2 separate regions of the Homo sapiens genome follow, and region 1 is linked to region 2. The links are contacts of gene promoters, found by promoter capture Hi-C in blood cells and fetal thymus (Javierre and others, 2016). All regions are on one chromosome and are shown on one strand. Each heading gives the region's core, a stretch centred on a gene start or on the middle of the fragment in contact. The rest is flanking DNA. Distances are from core to core; before and after follow the strand shown.

Evidence for each region. Contacts are between HindIII fragments. The CHiCAGO score rates a contact against its expected background, and 5 or more counts as called.
Region 1: a contact is called between a fragment that was not itself captured here and the fragment with the promoter of PPP1R16B in region 2, in 9 of 17 cell types (total CD8 T cells, total CD4 T cells, naive B cells and 6 more). The highest score is 22.9, in total CD8 T cells.

Annotation. Positions count from the first base shown.
Region 1 is chr20:38,896,237-38,899,368 of GRCh38, reverse strand. The region is part of intron 4 of PPP1R16B (protein phosphatase 1 regulatory subunit 16B); the gene reads right to left. Among named protein-coding and RNA genes, the nearest start is that of FAM83D, 29 kb to the left of the region's middle. The HindIII fragment of the contact is 8,801 bases long and covers 1-3,132 here.
Region 2 is chr20:38,803,996-38,807,089 of GRCh38, reverse strand. It overlaps PPP1R16B (protein phosphatase 1 regulatory subunit 16B), which reads right to left and starts at 1,393. Exons shown (of 11, transcript NM_015568.4): 1 at 1,298-1,393. RefSeq lists silencers at 344-693, 754-973, 1,164-1,543 and enhancers at 1-775, 1,804-2,073, 1,356-2,217, 2,218-3,080. The HindIII fragment of the contact is 16,329 bases long and covers 1-3,094 here.

The sequences.
Region 1 (3,132 bases), core at 566-3,065, 92 kb before region 2:
ACTGACCCAGGCTGGCACCACTTTCCTTGTCCTCTTAGCACCATCACTGATCAGGCTGTGGCCATCTGATGCTCCTAGCAGAATTAGCCATACTCAGGTTCCCATCAGAGACATAGGCACAGGCCACCATCCAGTCCTTTGGCCTAACAGCCCTCCACTGTGACTTCTCTGAGCTTTCGTACACCCCAGAGCAAGTTTATCCAGCTCTCTGAGCTGGGGCAGCAGTACTGTCATATCCATCCCCCCGGGAGCCAACGATGGGCTCCTGCCGCTCTGCCAAGACCAGTGCAAAAGGTTACCTGCCCTGGGCCACTCTCTCTGACTCCTTGCCCTCAGATGATCAGCCCCCTGGTCTGGCTCTGTCTCAGCTCTGGTACTTAAAACCCCTGGCTTTCTTCCTGGCTCCCCAGGACTTCTGCATCCCTGTGTGCCCAGTGCCCAGCTCTGGGTGATACCAATTATTATTTAGGTTGGTGCAAAAGTAATTGTGGTTCTTGCCATTACTTTTAAGAATCACAATGATTGTTGTTGTTGTTGTTGTTGTTGTTGTTGTTGTTTTGAAACAAGGTCTTGCTCCATCACCCAGGCTGGTGTGCAGTGGCTCAAACTCAGCTCACTGCAACCTCCGCCTCCCAGGTTCAAGCAGTTCTCCTGCCTCAGCCTCCTGAGTAGCTGGGATTACAGGCGTGCACCACCACGCCCAGCTAATTTTTGTATTTTTAGTAGAGACAGGGTCTCACTATGTTGGCCAGACTGGTATCGAACTCCTGACCTCAAGTGGTCCACCCATTTTGGCCTCCCAAAGTGCTGGGATTACAGGTGTCAGCCACCTGTAATCTCCAATGATGTTTTTTGCAGACTAGAATAGCTTACTCTAAAATTCATAGGGAATCTCAAGGAACCTGAATAGCCAACACAACCCTGAAAAAGAAGAACAAAGCTGGCGGATTCACACTTCCTGATTTCAAAACGAACTCCAAAACTCTAGCATCAAACAGTGTGGGGCTGGCATAAAGACAAACATATAGACCAATAAAATAGAATAGAGTCCAGAAACAAACCCTCACATACACGGTTAAATGATTTTAGACAGGGTACCAAGGCCATTCAATGGAGAAAAGACCAACCATCTTTCCAACAGATAGTGTAGGAAAATTGGATATCCGCATGCAAAAGAATGAAGTTAGATCCTTACCCAATACCATATATAAGATTTAATTCAAACTGGACCCATGACCTAAATGAAAGACCTAAAACTATAAAACTCTTAGGAGAAAACATAGAACAAAACCTCCATGATAGTGGATTTGGCAGTGATTTCAAAGACATCCTATAGAATGGGAGAAAATAGTACGTCTATCTGATAAGGGATTCATCTCCAGAATACATAGAGAAATCCTAAAATTCAATGACAAAAACCCAACCCAGTTCAAACATGGACAAAGGACTTGAATAGACATTTCTCCAAAGAAGACATACAGATGGACAACGGGCACATGAAAAGATGCTCAACGTCACTCATCACGAGAAAAATGCAAATCAAAACCACAGTGAGAGACCACCTCACATCTACTAGTATGGCTACTAACAAAAAAGAAAAAGCAGAAAATAGCAAGTGTTGGTGAGGATGTGGAGAAACTAGAATCCTTGTGTACTGTTGGTGGGAATGTAACATGTTGTGGAAAACAGTATAGCAGGTCCTTAAAAAATTTAAAATAGCATTACCATACAATCCAGCAACTCCACTTCTGGGTGTATAACCAAAGGAATTGGAAGCAGGATTTCAAGAGATATTTGTACACTCATGTTCGTCACAGCATGATTCACAATAGCTAAAACATGGAGGCAACCCAAGTGTCCATCAATGAATGGATGCATAAGTGAAACGTGGTATAGACATACAATGGAGTACATTCAGCCTTAAAAAGGAAGGAAACTCTGACACATACTACAACATAGATGAACCTTGAGGACATTATGCTAAGTGAAATATGCCAGTCAAAAAAAGACAAATACTGTATGAATCCACTTCTTGTTTTTTTAAGATGGTGTCTCACTCCGTCGCCCAGGGTGGATTGCAGTGGTACAATCTTGGCTCACTGCAACCTCAGTCTCCTGGGTTCGAGCGATTCTCCTGCCTCCACCACCTGAGTAGCTGGGATTACAGGCGTGAGCCACCACACCCAGCTGAATCCACTTTTCATTTATTTATTTATTTATTTGAGGTGCAGTTTTGCTCTTGTTGCCCAGGCTGGAGTGCAATGGCATGATCTCAGCTCATCGCAAACTCCGCCTCCTGGGTTCAAGCGATTCTCCTGCCTCAGCCTCCCAAGTAGCTGGGATTACAGGCATGCACCACCATGCCCGGCTAATTTTGTATTTTTAGTAGAGATGGGACTTCACCATGTTGGTCAGGCTGGTCTCGAACTCCCGACCTCAGGTGATCCACTTGCCTCAGCCTCCCAAAGTGCTGAGATTACAGGCGTGAGCTACCGTGCCCGGCCTTTCTGAATCCACTTCTATAAAGTGCTTACAGTAGTCAAATTCATAGAGACAGAAAGTAGAATGGTGGTCGCCAGGAGCCAGGGGTAGGCAGGGAATGGGAATTACTGTTTGATGGGTACAGAGTTTCAGTTTTGCGAGATGAAAGTCATTCTGAAGATGGAGAGTGGTAATGGCTGCACAACAATATGAATGTACTTAATACCACTAACCTGCACACTTAAAATGGGTAAGATGGTATTTTATGTTATATGTGTTTTATCACTATAAAAAATTGGGGGGAAAGGGAGAATGAAAGGAGAAGAGAGAAAATAAAAAGAGACTGGAAAATACAGAGACAGACCAAGAGTGAAGGAGAGACAGAGATAGAAGAAGAAAAGAGCAGAACAGGCACACAGAGATGGGGAGAGTAAAGGGGAACTGAGGGGAGGAGAGGGTGAGAGGTAGAAGCAGAGAGAGAGATGAAGAGAGGATGTGGGGAGAAAGAAAGTGACAAGCACCAAGAGAGACTGAGAAAGAGTGACAGAGAGAGAGAAAAAAAGAGAAAAGAGAGGAAGGAAGAAAAGCAGAAAAGGAGGGAAGGAGGAAGGGAAGAAAGAAGAAAGGAAGGGAGGGAGAGAGGGAGGGAGG
Region 2 (3,094 bases), core at 144-2,643:
GGGCGCCTGTACCTCCGGGCCCCGGGTCCTCCACAGAGGGTGATTCAGAGGCGGCACCTGGTGTCCAGAGCCGCGGAGAGCTGGGGGGCTCTTCTGACAGTGAAAACAGGGGCCCTTTATGTGAAATGCAATCACATGGGCGCGCAGGCAGCTCGGTTTTCGGTTCCTAGAAGCGCTGATGAAGCCACATCCCTCTCCCTCCGCTCCTGAGGTGCCCGGGAGCACCGGGACCCAGGCCTGGCGCGCGGCAGCGGCGCAGCCCTGGGGTCTCAGGAGGGCCAGATTCAAAGCTCTCCCAGGCTCAATTATCCTCCAAGGGCTGGGAGCTGCATCATCAGCATCTCCAGTGAAGCTGGAGGCCGGGCCGGGGTGGGGGAGCGGAGGAAGGGAGTCTACATGGGGGAAGGAGGAGGGCAGCGAGCGCCTGCCTCCCGGCTCTCCACCCGGGGCGGTCTGGGCAGCTCAGCCTGGGCACTCCGGGTGACCTTGGGGAGACCCCTCTGGGCGACCTCTCAGGGGCGGCTGCACGTCTCCGCCCATCCTCGGCGCCCGGGGGCGCTCCTCTGGGCCGGAATCGATGAGCCGGAGTCGCCCAGAGGGGAGCGCTCCTGGCGCGGGGGACCCAGCCGCCGGCGCACGGGGCCCTGGGAGAGGCCGGGCGCGCCCCTCCCGGGGAACTACCACTCGCGGGGTCTCCCCGGGCTGGCTGGTGCTGTCAGCCGGATCCTGAGGCGGGGCGGGTCTGCAGGTGGAGGCGCCTGCCTTGGGGATCTTTCCCGCCCGGGCAGGAGCGCTCTCTGCGCCCTGCCGCTGCCCGCCAGGACCAAGCCCCGCCACGCGAGGGGGCGGCACCACCATGCCCGGCCGGGAGAGTGCGCGGGGGGGGGTTGTTTGGTGTCCGCTGTGGCTCCCGCCGCCCGGCATTGCACCCCCGGCAGACGGCGGCCCCATGAGTCCAGAACAGACCGAGGACCCCACCTCCCCGCCCCAAGATCGGTCTACGACGGCCGCAGCCAACAACCTGCCAATGCGCCCCCTCCCCTGGCCTCGTCAAGGAATTGCGAGGCCGGGGAGAACGCCCCCATTCCAGCCCGACTCCCGGACCTAGCGCTCTCGGTACCCGTCTTTCCAGAGTCCCCACACTCCCATTTATCTCAAGCTATCGTCCCTTGGCCAAAGCGCCCCGGCCCCCAGCTAGGTGATAGCAGGCTGGGACCACCTCCCCGCCCCATCCTCATCCCCCGCCCTGCGAAGCCGCAGAGCGCAAGGAGGGTGGTGGCGCCGCCGGGGAACTCACCCGCTCTCCCGAGCCCTGCCCCGGGCGGCTCCCGACCCCGGCTGTGTCTGTGGGTCCCCGAGCCGCAGCTGCTCCAGCGGCGACAGAGCTGGCTCTGCTCGGCCGCGAGCCTCCGCGCCGCCTCTCGGCTCCTCCCCCAAGGCGGGGCCTGAGCTCCTGGGACTGGGGTGGGCGCGCTCAACCCCATCCGGCTTGGGAGGCAGCGCGGGACAGGGTCCCGGCGCTCTCGGGTGGGGACCCCTCTTCTGAGCTGCAGGAAGTTGAAACCGGTTGGGACGTGGCCAGGCTTCGGAATAGTTTTCCTAACGCTGCCCCCTCCTCCAAAATAGTTTTCCTAACCCCCACCCCGACCATGGAAAGAGGGAAGCCAAGGACGGTATCCCTGCTCCCATTTGACAGACGGGAATCCTGAAGCCCAGAGAGGAGTGGTAACCTGCTCAAGGTCACACAGAATGAATGCCAGGGCCAGGAACTCAGGGTTCCTAGCTTGAAGGCCTGCGCGGCCTGAGTCTGAAGGCTTCCCAGGAGGTCCAGGGGCCGGCCCTGGCCTTGCGCTGGGGACAGATCTGTGGGGCCAGGTCCCCCAGCTGCTGGGGCCGAGACATGGGGGCTGTGGCCTGCGGTGTGGACTCGCATCATTTCCTCTTTCTGGAAAGAAGGGAGGTGAAGCGCTGGAGGAAGGAAGTGGTCGTACCTCTGCTGACGTCTGACGCCCTTTGAGATGTGCAGGATGAAGATAGGGGCTGCTTCCCTGAGATTTAACGCTAAAAATAAAAAGCAAAACATACCCGGTGGCTTCTGTCACCTCATTCAAGCCTCTTTCTGGGGCTGAAGGCCTCTGCACTCTGTGCACCAGCCTTTCTTTACAACACAATGGGTTTAACTATTTAAGTTGCTGAGAGTCACCCCCCACCATCACCACCCCAGGAAGAGAAAAGAAAGTTCATAAACAAAGCAGAGAAAACCTCCCCAAACATTCTCTGGAATCCACATTTGCTGAACCCTGGCCTTAGAACAATAGGTTTCTCTTCTCCACAAAGGCCTTGTTTCCTGAGCTTTCCCGGCCTACAGATGAGAGCCCTAGGCACCCCAGGGCCAGCCAGCTGGGGAAATTCAGAGTTTAAGTTTGGGGAGTTTGGGGATGGTACCCAGTTAATTTGATTCTCAGCTGTCATGTTTGAGGAACTCGCCCGAATCCTTTTTTTTTCACTGGCAATATTCTTTTGAGGCCACCAGCATCACCTGAGTTTAGTGATTTTCTGTTTGCTCAGTCACCTTTCTTGGGGGAGAGAAAATCTGTGGGTTGAACTTGTTCCAGGCCCCCAGGCCCTCTCCAGGAACTCTGTAAGCCCCCTTCATTGGCTCCCTGGCTCCCTCTCAGTTCATTAATAATCCAGTTGTGAATGACACTGTTTCAGGAAAAGCAATTAGACAGTAGAGCATGTGGGGAAGACTTAAAGCCATGTTTAAAATAACCCAAGGGAATCATTGTTCTCCGAAGAATGTTTCCATTGATTGATAATGAAGAGCCATGGGCTGAGAGGATGGGAACCCATCTCTCCAAGGCTTGTGTGGCACTTGGGGCCTGTGTTCCTAAAATAAGGCCTTTGGAGGGAGGGGGCTCCCAACTCCAATGTCATGCTGTTCATTCACCTCTCACACTGTGTTCGGTATCAAAAGTTAAAGTAAATTCAGAATAAGTTGGGGGACTCACAAGTCCTGATTTCAAAACTTACTAGGAAACTTCAGTCATCAAGGCAGGGTGGTACGGGTATAAGGATGGGCATACAGACCAAT